Linked DNA regions of Homo sapiens: all the other regions are linked to region 1. Evidence: promoter capture Hi-C in 16 types of primary human blood cells and fetal thymus (Javierre and others, 2016). All regions are on one chromosome and are shown on one strand. Each heading gives the region's core, a stretch centred on a gene start or on the middle of the fragment in contact. The rest is flanking DNA. Distances are from core to core; before and after follow the strand shown.

What was found. The method cuts DNA at HindIII sites, captures the fragments that hold promoters and counts their contacts. A CHiCAGO score of 5 or more calls a contact.
Region 2: a contact is called between a fragment that was not itself captured here and the fragment with the promoter of TNFSF12 in region 1, in 17 of 17 cell types (erythroblasts, endothelial precursors, naive B cells and 14 more). The highest score is 15.9, in erythroblasts.
Region 3: the fragment with the promoter of TMEM256 here is called in contact with the fragment with the promoter of TNFSF12 in region 1 in 2 of 17 cell types (endothelial precursors and total CD8 T cells); the score reaches 7.0 in endothelial precursors.
Region 4: a fragment that was not itself captured here is called in contact with the fragment with the promoter of TNFSF12 in region 1 in 11 of 17 cell types (naive B cells, activated CD4 T cells, non-activated CD4 T cells and 8 more); the score reaches 9.7 in naive B cells.

Annotation. Positions count from the first base shown.
Region 1 is chr17:7,547,662-7,550,562 of GRCh38, reverse strand. It overlaps TNFSF12 (TNF superfamily member 12), which reads right to left and starts at 1,505. Exons shown (of 7, transcript NM_003809.3): 1 at 1,251-1,505; 2 at 1,042-1,089; 3 at 368-443. The coding sequence starts at 1,409. TNFSF12-TNFSF13 (TNFSF12-TNFSF13 readthrough) reads right to left here and starts at 1,505. Exons shown (of 11, transcript NM_172089.4): 1 at 1,251-1,505; 2 at 1,042-1,089; 3 at 368-443. The coding sequence starts at 1,409. RefSeq lists silencers at 1,311-1,390, 1,421-1,610. The HindIII fragment of the contact is 9,939 bases long and covers 1-2,901 here.
Region 2 is chr17:7,386,404-7,389,103 of GRCh38, reverse strand. TNK1 (tyrosine kinase non receptor 1) reads right to left here. Exons shown (of 13, transcript NM_003985.6): 8 at 2,449-2,543; 9 at 1,950-2,114; 10 at 1,647-1,726; 11 at 400-698; 12 at 221-316; 13 at 1-133. The coding sequence ends at 20. Among named protein-coding and RNA genes, the nearest start is that of TNK1, 6.7 kb to the right of the region's middle. The HindIII fragment of the contact is 3,374 bases long and covers 1-2,700 here.
Region 3 is chr17:7,402,719-7,405,506 of GRCh38, reverse strand. It overlaps TMEM256 (transmembrane protein 256), which reads left to right and starts at 1,410. Exons shown (of 4, transcript NM_152766.5): 1 at 1,410-1,507; 2 at 1,818-1,849; 3 at 2,117-2,197; 4 at 2,298-2,532. The coding sequence starts at 1,423. The coding sequence ends at 2,441. It overlaps TMEM256-PLSCR3 (TMEM256-PLSCR3 readthrough (NMD candidate)), which reads left to right and starts at 1,376. Exons shown (of 10, transcript NR_037719.1): 1 at 1,376-1,507; 2 at 1,818-1,849. It also overlaps a transcript of NLGN2 not described here. RefSeq lists a silencer at 602-931 and an enhancer at 1,422-1,601. The HindIII fragment of the contact is 6,317 bases long and covers 1-1,702 here.
Region 4 is chr17:7,313,215-7,316,064 of GRCh38, reverse strand. GPS2 (G protein pathway suppressor 2) reads left to right here and starts at 705. Exons shown (of 11, transcript NM_004489.5): 1 at 705-734; 2 at 946-1,106; 3 at 1,468-1,577; 4 at 1,662-1,774; 5 at 1,906-1,985; 6 at 2,077-2,159; 7 at 2,344-2,497; 8 at 2,596-2,685; 9 at 2,774-2,850. The coding sequence starts at 1,013. NEURL4 (neuralized E3 ubiquitin protein ligase 4) reads left to right here. Exons shown (of 29, transcript NM_032442.3): 29 at 1-437. RefSeq lists a silencer at 763-1,092 and an enhancer at 2,040-2,109. The HindIII fragment of the contact is 643 bases long and covers 1,042-1,684 here.

The sequences.
Region 1 (2,901 bases), core at 256-2,755:
AGGTGGGGGCCAGGACAACTGCATGCCGACTTGGACACGTGGTCATCCGGCCACCCCATCATCCCATTCCTAAGTCTCTTTGCCTACCGGGGCCCAGGCCTCTGACTGCCAGGCCTAGTCTCCATCAGGATCCCAGTAGTTCTTCTAACTCATGGCCACCCTGCCTTCCTGTTTGGGGTAGGGTCTGAAGGAGCACATCCATATGACAGAAGGAGCTTCAGAGGAGGGCGAGAATCCCTAGGTTTGAGTCTTGGCTGGTTAGCTGCATGACTCTGAACTCCTTTCACCCTCCGTGCCTCAGTTTCTCCCTGTGGATAATGGTTTTTGCTCTGCCCGCTTCCTGAGGTTGGGATAGAGGGATGCTCACCACTTCTGCGAGGCCGAACTAGTCGGTTCAGGAAAGGCGCAGGATCCTGGCTTTCTTCTGTCTGGGGATTCAGTTCCTAGGGGAATTAGGGCAGGGTTCAACCACAGACTCCCAGAGATATAAAGTGAGACATACGGGGCCTGTCAGGAGAGCCACCAGCCAGCAATAGACACAGAAGTCAGGGACAGATTAAGCCCCTCAGCCAACTACAGCTGGGGCCCCGGGCAAAGGTGAAGCTGGGAGTCAGGCCCCAGTCCTCACCCTTTCCTCTAGACCAGCTACACTTTCCCACCCACACACACAACCAACGCAGACCCTGCATTCAATTGGCACATTGCACACATGCCCGCACCCAGTCACCACGCACAGAGGATACACACCCTGTACACAACCGCACCCCTCTTCCACGCAGACTCACATATCTTATACAACCACGTCACCCCCAGCCAATAAACACCTCAGACTCAGGTGGCACAACCCCAGCACAAACCCCTCACACAGAGTTGTCACCACGCACACACACCCCTGCAGACACGCACCCATGCACGCACTGTGTTCACACACACCCTGCACACACCTCGAGTACGGCTGGCACAGCTGCACACACCTGCAGCCTCGGCTGTGCACACTTCCCATGCCCCAGCAGCCTGCAGACCGCGCCCACGCCCACTCACCGACGGGTCCTGGTCCTCCTCTGCCACCAGCTCCTCCTGGGCAGGCTCCTGCTGGGAAGGAGGGAGCGTCACCCTGTGCCGCTCCACCTGACATCTCACCCTCCACCCATCCTCCCTTCCCCTTGCCTTCAGCCCACGCGGCCCCCAGCGGCCCCTCTGCAGTCTCAGCTCCTGATGTGCCCAAGAAGGGGTGCGCAGCGGGGCCTCACCTGGGCGGACAGCGATGCCCGGCTCCCCAAACTGACCACGGCCAGCAGGAGGCCGAGGCAGGCCAGCGCCAGGCCCAGGCCCAGCGCGAGCGGGACCAGCAGGGCGGTGCCCGGCTCCCCCCGGCGCCCCCTCCGCCTCTGGCTCCGACGGGCGGCCATGGGGGCGGGGGGCTGTGCCTGCCTCACCGCCCCCCCATCCCGGGACCCGAGGGATCGGGGGAGGGGGAGCCGGCGGGCGGATCGGGCCGGGGAGAGGGAGGGGCAAGGGAAACGGGGCGGGAGGGGGCGCTGGGGACAGGAAGCCGGACGCTGTGTGTGATCAAACTCCGAGCCTCTCGCCGGGCGCTGTGCGCGCAGCGAACGGAGTGGGCGCCCACCCGACCTCTGAGCGCCCAGCCCGGGCGTGCACCACCAGGGCGAGGTCCGTTGCGTGCGGCCGCGGGAGCGACGGGGCTATGCGTGTGCGGGCACCTCCTGCGGGGAGGTGGGGAACTCAGGAAGGCCTGTTGGTTCAGATTCTTCTGTGTCCCTGTGTCTTCAGAGATAAGGACCCTCCTTTCCCCCAGGTGCAGGGAGGGCGCCTCTCGCAGGAGGCTGTTATTTGCTTCTTCAGGAAAAGGGCAGGGAGTTCCAGGTTGTATGACCTGGTTCAGGGAAGAAGGGCAGGAGAAGGTAAGAAAGATCCTTCGGCTTCTGCGGTTTTCTCAAATTCCTTCAGCTTAAAACACTCACTGTGCCGGTAGCACGTTCTGAAGCCCATCATTACCAATGATTGCCAAGCATCTGAGGAGGACCAGCAGCATGCAAAAGAAACACCAAAATTGGTCCGGCAGGTGGCTTACGCCTGTAATCCCAGAAGGCCAAGGCTGGGGGCCAGGAGTTCAAGATCAGCCTGGGCAAGAGCAAGACCCCATCTCTACAGAAAAGTTTTAAAAAATTAGCCCACGCCTGTAGTCCCAGCTACTCAGGAGGCCGAGGTAGGAGGATTGTTTGAGCCCAGGAGTTTGAGGCTGCAGTGAGCTGTGATTGCACCACTACACTCCAGCCTGGGCAACAGACCTTGTCTCAAAAAGAAAGAAAGAAAGGAAGAAAGAAAGAAAGGAGGGAGGGAGGGAGGGAGGGAAGGAGGGAAGGAAGGAAGGAAGGAAGGAAGGAAGGAAGGAAGGAAGGAAGGACCAAAATTGGCTGGGCGCGATGGTTCACGCCTGTAATCGCAGCACTTTGGGAGGCTGAGGCGGGTGGATCACGAGGTCAGGAGATCGAGACCTGCCTGGCCAAGATGGTGAAACCCTGTCTCTAATAAAAATACAAAAAAATTAGCCGGACGTGGTGGCAGGCGCCTGTAGTTCCCAGCTACTCGGGAAGCTGAGGCAGAGAATTGCTTGAACCCAGGAGACAGAGGTTGCAGAGAGCTGAGATCACGCCACCACACTCCAGCCTGGGCAACACAGCAAGACCCTATCTCAAAAAAAAAAAAAAAGAAAGAAAGACCAAAATTAACAAACAAAATTTGACATTGGAGGAAACAGAGATAATTCAGGATACAAAGAGTACTACCTAATATACTTAAAGAGAGTCAAGAAAAAGCATCCATAGAGCTGGGCATGGTGGTGCATGCCTGTAGTCCCAGCTACTCAGGAGGTTGAGATGG
Region 2 (2,700 bases), core at 143-2,642, 160 kb after region 1:
GTGCCCGCAGAAGCTGAGCTCAGGGCCTGGCCAGGACATAGCGGCTGGCAGCTGAGAGGTCCCACTGGTAATGCTCCAGGATGCGCCAGCAGTCAGCTCTGGACCGGCTACTCAGGTGGAAGAGCTGATCTACCTGTGGAAGCAGGAGGGTGGGTTGCAGCTGACTGCCAGGCGGCAGGGGCAGGAGAGGAGGGACCCCAAGAGAAGGGGCTGGCTTTACCTTGAGGTTCCGGATGGCAGAAACCACATCTCCCCCAGTGGCTCCTAGTGCTGTCTGGCACTCCTGGTGGGTGACCCCATGCACACTCAGCTCCACCTGTGACAGACAAAGCCTCACTCAGGCCCCTGCCCCTGCCTGTAGCCCCTTCTGGACACCAGGCCATTTCAGTGAGACCTCACCTCCATAATCTTCCTCTGCAACTCAGGATCGGACAAGAGGCCTCCAGAGAGGGCAGCGGCTTTACGGGCTCCAGGCATTCCCATGGGGTGATTGTGTGGGGGTTTTCTTTTGGGCCAGGGAAGCCTCTCCCTAGAGGGCTGGCTGGGCTGAGGAGAGCTAGAGGATAAAGGTGGGCGTGGAGGCAGGCCTGGAGGTCCCTGGGGCACAGCTCTGGCTTGTCGAATTTCAGGGGGGCTTGAACCACCCCCTGTGGGACGAGGACCGAGGGACAGAACTGACTCCAGACTCCTGGAAATGCCTGCACAGTTGAGAAGGAAACAACTTGAACTCGGCTGGCTGCAGCCTCCGCCTCCCGGGCTCAAGCGATCCTCCCACCTCAGCCTCCCGAGTAGCTGGGACTATAGGTGCCTGCCATTACGACTGGCTAATTTTTGTATTTTTGTAGAGAAGGGGTTTCGGCACATTGCCCAGGCTGGTCTCAAACTCCTGGACTCAAGCCATCCACCCACGCTGGGCTCCCAAAGTGCTGGGATTACAGGCTTGAGCCACCATGCCTGGCCCCACTCTCTGTCTTCATCTGTGCTGAGCTGGATGGTTTTGCAAGCATTTGCAGATGAGCTAGCCAGCCCTGTCCCTGGGTGGTTCATGTGTCAGGTGGGACAATAAGACAGATGGGCAAGTGGACACCAAGGCCTAGGCGGAGGGCCCAGAGAACTCAGAGCTCAGGGCCCAGAGTGTGGAGGTGCTCTTCAGAAGGGAAGGCAGGAGGGCTTCCTATCTTTTAAGATTCCACAGTATAGGGCCGGACGCAGTGTCTCACGCCTGTAATCCCAGCACTTTGAGAGGCCGAGGCAGGCAGATCACCCGAGGTGGGGAGTTCAAGGCCAGCCTGGGCAACAGGGTGAAACCTCATCTCTACTAAAAATACAAAATTAGCCGGGTGTGGTGGCACATGCCTGTAGTCCCAGCTACTCGGGAGGCTGAGGCAGGAGAATCGCTTGAACCCGGGAGGTGGAGGTTGCGGTGAGCCAAGATCACGCTACTGCACTCCAGCCTGGGCAAAAAGAGTGAAACTCTGTCTCAAAAAAAAAAAAAAAAAATAGATTGCACAGTATAGCTAGGATGCCAGCAGACAGAATTCAGAGGAAGGAAATAATAGATGCAAAGGCATGGATTTAGGGCAGGGGGTCGGAATTGAAGGACTGGTCTTGATCTCCTCAGAGACTCTGGAGTCCACCACACCCACCTTTCATCCTCTCCAGGGGCATGTTCCTCCTCTGGCCCCGTGCTGGGGGCGCATCCCAAAGATTTGCCTTCTTTCTGTCTCTGTCGGAGAGGGATCCAGTTCATCCTCCACACCAACTCTCCCCACCCCACAGATCAATATACCCTCCCAAAAAAACTCACAGGGGAACCCAGGAGACCCAGGGCCCAGGGTGGAGGCTGCAGCTTCACTCTGGTCCTGTCCCCAGGCTTCTCTTCCAGAGAAGCTCCTGGACCTCATCAGTTCTCCCAGCCAACCCCTGCCCTCACCCTTTCAGGTCCTCACCCATCTATGCTTCCTGGGTGTTGATCTCCCCGGGCAGGGGTGCCTCTGTGGACTGGACGGGTGGCTGGCAAGCCCCCCGCATCTGCCAGCGTCACTGCCGAGGCTGGGAAGCTGCCCACTTTGAAGGTGCGACCATTCTGGCCCTTCCAGATTGTGGAGTCGGGGCTGTGGAAAGAGGAGCTGGTAAATAGGATGGGAATAAGGGCAAGAGTTAGGGCTGGGCCCTGGCCCACAGTCAGCTCACTAGGCTATGTGCCTTGGAGCCGCATCTGCCTGGAGGAAGGGAAGCCTTTTCCCTAATGCAATAAGGCTCTATGGGCCAGCAGTGGCTCCAGCAGGGAGGCCAGGACCATGCTGGAGCTTTCAGGACCCAGTGGGGAGAGGAGATGAGACAGAAGATCAGGGTTCAAGGAGCTGGAGAGAAGCAGAGAAGGGATCAGGAATTAGGCTGGGAGGGTATCCTCCTCCTGAGGGTGCTTGGGAGGTATGGGACTGTCACCTGCCCTCGATGACTGTGATGGGGTCACCAGTCTCCATCCTCAGGGCGCCTGGTTCTGTGACATCCCTCACACAACATGCTTCCGAAGGCCCGGCCTGTGGAGACAAGAGGAAAGGGTGGCTGGGCTTGTGGCCTGAGTCAGATAGGTAATATGGGAGCAGGAATAAAGAGGAGCTCCGCTCTGTATGTAGTCTGTGCTGGGCCCAGGGTGGGACTCTCCCTGTCCCCCCATTGTAATTCAGTGAGGGAGGC
Region 3 (2,788 bases), core at 161-2,660, 140 kb after region 1:
GCCCAGCCCCCGCCCGCAGCGCCTCACCCGGCGGGGGAGGGGGATCGCCCCAGCCCCGGGGGGCGGGGCCGGGATCCAGTCGATCCCCGGGAAAAGGAGAGCTAGGGGATGGGATCAGGGGGAGCCCGAGAACAGGGAACCCCGCAGTAGGGACGATAGAGAAAGGAGGGGGCAACGGGACAGGACTAGATTGAGGATCCGCTGGTTCCGTGGGCCGGCTTCGAGGGACCAGAAGGCGGTCCAGGCGGAGGATCCTAAGGATCGGGTGCTGGAGGAGGAGTCCACGTTAATCCCCAGGGGCCCGGGGCCCGGGAGCGCAGGATCCGCGGTGCAGGGGCAGGGATCCAGCCGGAATCCTCGGGGAGGGGGAGGGATCTAGTCGATCCCGAGGGCGGGCGTGAGGGGGAGGTCCGGGGAGTCAGAGGAGGGCGGGAGCCGAGTCCAGAGCCCCGGGGCGGGGGTCAGCGCGGATCCTAGGAGGGAAGGCGGGGGTGAGGGGAGGCTTCGAGGGACGCTCAGCAGCCGGGAGGCCCGGACTCCTGGCTCCGCGCGCCAGGGCCGGCCCGCCCCGCGTCCATCCCAGCCCGAGAGTGATGATCCGCCGGCGGAGCAGCCGCAGCAGCCCCGCGCGTCACCGCGCGGCCGCCTCCCCCGCCCCCTGCCGAGAGAGCGGCGCACACCCCCCGCTCGCACCCCCCGCTCGCACCCGCCTGCCCGCCCGCCCTCCGGAGAATGGGGGGATTGGAGATGGTGGGAAGAGGCGGGAGCGGACAGACGGACAGATGGACGTAGCGGGCCAGGGCAGGGTGGAGACATTCCCCCGGATCTCCCACCCTCGGGGCTCTCGCGGTCTCGGAGGGCTGGCGGGGGGGAGAATATCTTAACTACAGGGGGCGGGGCATCATACAAAGAAGGCGGAGCCTTCAGACATGGGGGAGGGGCCATTTGTGCAGTGGGCGGGGTTTACTGGCAATAGGTGGGGCTTTGCTATCTTTCGGGCCGCCTCTTTTTGGTAGTGGGTTTGATTTGAAGCTGAACAGGAGGAGCCTGTGGAAAAAGGGGCGGAACTTTGAGAGAAGACCGGGATCTTTGGAAATTGGCCGGAGCATGGGGGTGGGGGGTTCGAAGAGGCGATCAACTTGGAAAGTGGGCCAATCCTTGACGCAAATCCCCCTAGTCCCGCCCTCAACCCCGCCCCCCCACTGCTTAGCTCCTCTGTTCCTAATTGGTGCTGGTTTCTCCGCCCGCCAGACGTCTTCGCCACTCTGCAGCGGTTTTACAAAGGCGGGTGAAGAGCGCAATGCTGAAATGAACACGGCCCGGATTGGGCGCCTGTGAACCTTATTTGCATGGGCGGTCGGGATTGGCTGGCCTCTTGGGTGGCCTGGGCGGCGTTGGTCCGGTGCGTCCTGTTCTACAGCTATGGCCGGGCCAGCTGCAGCTTTCCGCCGCTTGGGCGCCTTGTCCGGAGCTGCGGCCTTAGGCTTCGCTTCCTACGGGGCGCACGGTCAGGGGGCTGGGGACGAAGATGGGACTGTACTTGGGGCGTCCTCTGGGGTCTGCTGCAAGGGCGTAACCTATGGGAGGTGCCCGGCCTCTCGTTTATCAGACAGTCCGCGGAGCCCTAAACCTTTTAAAGTCCCCCAGCTGGGTCCAATTGGTTCCCAGTACTGCCCGAGCGTGTTCCCACCAATCGGAAGCTTCCTGGGGCGGGGGGGGGGGTGCCCTTTCTCGCCAATGTCCACCTGGGTCCCCCCGGATTGGGGGCGGTCAGGGCTGGCACTAGGACCGCTAACCTTTGCTTCTTTTCTCCACAGGCGCCCAATTCCCAGATGCCTACGGGAAGGAGGTGAAGTAACTGCGCTGGGGCTCCCTGACTCGTGGGTCTACGAAGGCACAAAGTCTGGGGTCCCTGGGGGAAGTGGGCGGGGAGAGGGTGGGGCGAGCCGCGGATCTCTGGAGCAGCAAAGGCCAAAGGCTCTGTAAGCCAAAGGCCTGGGATCAAGCTGGGACTTCAAGGGTGGGGTGGGGGAAGGAACTTTGGTCCCTTGTGTCATCAGGGGATCTCAGTACCTGTATTGCCTACGACATCCCTTCGTTTCTGTTTTTCTTACAGCTGTTTGACAAGGCCAACAAACACCACTTCTTACACAGCCTGGCCCTGTTAGGGGTGCCCCATTGCAGAAAGCCACTCTGGGTAATCTTTCCCTGCGCCTAACCCTGACCAAGCCCCACACACTCCCTCTCAGCCTGCCCTGTTCTTAACAATCCTGTTTTCTGTGCTGTGTCTCCTTCAGGCTGGGTTATTGCTAGCTTCCGGAACGACCTTATTCTGCACCAGCTTTTACTACCAGGCTCTGAGTGGAGACCCCAGCATCCAGACTTTGGCCCCTGCGGGAGGGACCCTGCTACTCTTGGGCTGGCTTGCCTTGGCTCTTTGAGCTCCCTTTTGCTTAATTACTGGGTTTTCTGGGCAGTTTTTTTTTTAAAGAGTTGGAGTAAGAAGAGGATTAAAAAGGAAAGGCAAATAAACTTTGGAGTCTTTGTTCATCTAACCTCTTGGAGGACGAAGGGTGGGGATTCAACCTCTGAACTCCCTCCATTTCCTAAGACTTAATCAGTGAGCCTTAGGTCTGGGGATTCTGGTCACTTTAAGTTAACTTATTATAATGTTCTTACCCTGGTGGGCATCAAAGTCATAAAGAATGCTTGAAATAACACAGATTCCTACTGAAGCACTCTTTCGGGCCTGAGAATCTGTATTTTAATAAGCTCATCTTGTGGTTCT
Region 4 (2,850 bases), core at 114-2,613, 230 kb after region 1:
GCGACTGCCTCCACCTCATTCCCGTGACTCGTGGCATGCGCAGGTGCTGGAGCTTGGCAGCCGCGCAGGAGCATGTAGGCAGGCTCTCAGATGTAGGTGGCAAGTGGCACAGCTCCATGTCCGGAGGCCCAGCACTCCGTCTGATGGGAGGAGTCGTGGGAGCCCAGCTCCAGGCCCTGGTACCCCTCTTCATGCACTGATTTGGGGAACATGACTCCCTTTTACTCCCCTACCCCACATCACTTAATTTATTTCCGTTTTTGTTTCTGGTTACTGTGAATCCCAGAGGAGTCTCTCCCTGTGCCCACATGAAGCTGCTTTTTCCGGGGCCACCGGGCGGGAGTGGGGAAGGGTGGGCGCACGGAAGATGGGGGCCTCTGTACAGTTGTTACTGACTCTGATTTCTAAGGAGCCAATAAACACCGTCTCAGAGCCTCCGCCTCGGCCTCTCTCTCGCGCGCCCCTCTCCGGAGCCCGCGTCCCCTGGGGTGCCACCAGGTGGGCCCGCGAAATTAAAGAGAGCTGAGGATGCCAAGGCCAGTCTGCAGCCGTCGTCGCTCACGTTCCCGGCGACGGGGTTTGTACGCCGCGGGCACCCGTCGCAGCGCGCTTCCGCCTTCTTTCACCTGTGAGGTCGGCCGCCGCCGTGACTCCGGAAGGACTCGGCCGGGCCGCCGGATGTGACGCAGGGGCCAGGGCGCGTCGGAGCCGCTGAGAAAGCGCAGAGAAGGCGGGTAGGAAGGGCAGTCGTCCGCGCTGGCTGGGCAGGGAGCGGCAGCAGCGAGCCGGGGACCCCGGCGCCGCCCGCGCGCGGTGGGACTGGGGCTGCGGTCCCGGCCGGGTGGCGGGCTCCTGGGACACGTGACCGGGGCGGCGAGCGGGCCGGGCGGACGGGCTTCCGCCTGGGCCGGGCGCGGCCCCCTCTGAGCGCCCGCCTCCCCGCAGGCCCCGTCTGAGGTCTGGCAGTCAGAGACAGCCGGGCGCCCACGGCCCGAGCGCCCACGGCAGCACCATGCCCGCACTCCTGGAGCGCCCCAAGCTTTCCAACGCCATGGCCAGGGCGCTGCACCGGCACATTATGATGGAGCGGGAGCGCAAGCGGCAGGGTGAGCCGGGGCCATAGCAGGGGGACGCACGGCCCAGAATGGCTCCTGTACCTCAAGGCTGGCCTCAACCCACCGGCCAACCAGCGCGCCCGCTGCCGAGCGCAGAGGAGGGAAGGAATAGCCCCGTTGTGGTGGGATTTAAGCGTCCTGTTCCACGCTCCAGAACCCTTGAGATGGGAAGGACCTTGGAGAGCACCTGATAAAGCCTTTCCGTTCCCTATTGCCGCGATGGGGAGCTTGTCCCCTCGAGGCAAAGAGCATACAGGCGTGTTGGGATGACTGGGTTTTGCTGGTCTTCAATCTGTAACGTTGGAATTGTTTTCACTACCCTGCCTCTTCTTCATTCTGCCTGATTCTCCAGAGGAAGAAGAGGTGGATAAGATGATGGAACAGAAGATGAAGGAAGAACAGGAGAGAAGGAAGAAAAAGGAGATGGAAGAGAGAATGTCATTAGAGGAGACCAAGGAACAAGTAAGCAGTCCCTTGAACTTTCCCAGCTTTGATTTCTTCGTTTGACTCTCCCTGCCTTCATCTTCTTTTCCCACCCCATCCCAGATTCTGAAGTTGGAGGAGAAGCTTTTGGCTCTACAGGAAGAGAAGCACCAGCTTTTCCTGCAGCTCAAGAAAGTTTTACATGAGGAAGAAAAACGGAGGCGAAAGGAACAGAGGTGGGATCAGAGTGCTAAAAACTGAAATGGGGGCCAAGTGGAACTGGGATCAGGTAGTAAAAGAACCAGTGTTTAATGGCAAAAGAGAAGGCATCTGTCCTTGACTTTGACCTGTCTTCCTTTCACTCCAGTGACCTGACCACCCTAACATCAGCTGCATACCAGCAGAGCCTGACTGTTCACACAGGAACTCATCTCCTCAGCATGCAGGGTGAGGACTAAAGAAACCACCAGATGGAACCGGCCTTCTTGGAGGTCACAGCCTCCCATTTCAGCATCATGAAGCCCTTCTCCCTTTCTAGGGAGCCCTGGAGGACACAATCGCCCAGGCACCCTCATGGCAGCTGACAGAGCCAAACAAATGTTTGGACCCCAAGTGCTTACGGTGAGAGTAGGATTGGATGCCTAGCCCCTAGTACTTCCATCCATGCATCCTTGCCACCAGTATTCAAGTCACAAACATATCAAGCACTTAAGTTTAGGGGGAAACGGGGCATACAGATACACACAAGTCACTGGGTTTCAGCTTTCAAGGAGTTTGTAGGCGAGTTCTCATTCTCCTTCCTTAGACCCGGCACTACGTGGGCTCAGCAGCTGCTTTTGCAGGGACACCAGAGCATGGACAATTCCAAGGCAGTCCTGGTGGTGCCTATGGGACTGCTCAGCCCCCACCTCACTATGGGCCCACACAGCCAGCTTATAGTCCTAGTCAGCAGCTCAGAGGTGAGTAATAGGAGGGATGGGGCTTGGCCTTCCTCAAGGTCAAAGGAGGAATGCCATTCAGTAAAAGATTTTAATGGCTCTGTCTTTTCCTTTCTCAGCTCCTTCGGCATTCCCTGCAGTGCAGTACCTATCTCAGCCACAGCCACAGCCCTATGCTGTGCATGGCCACTTTCAGCCCACTCAGACAGGTGATAACATCCCATGCAGGAGCTCTAGCTCTCAGGTCCTCCCCTCCCTGTTTCATTCTCATCTCACATGCCCCTCTTCCCCACCTAGGTTTCCTCCAGCCTGGTGGTGCCCTGTCCTTGCAAAAGCAGATGGAACATGCTAACCAGCAGACTGGCTTCTCCGAC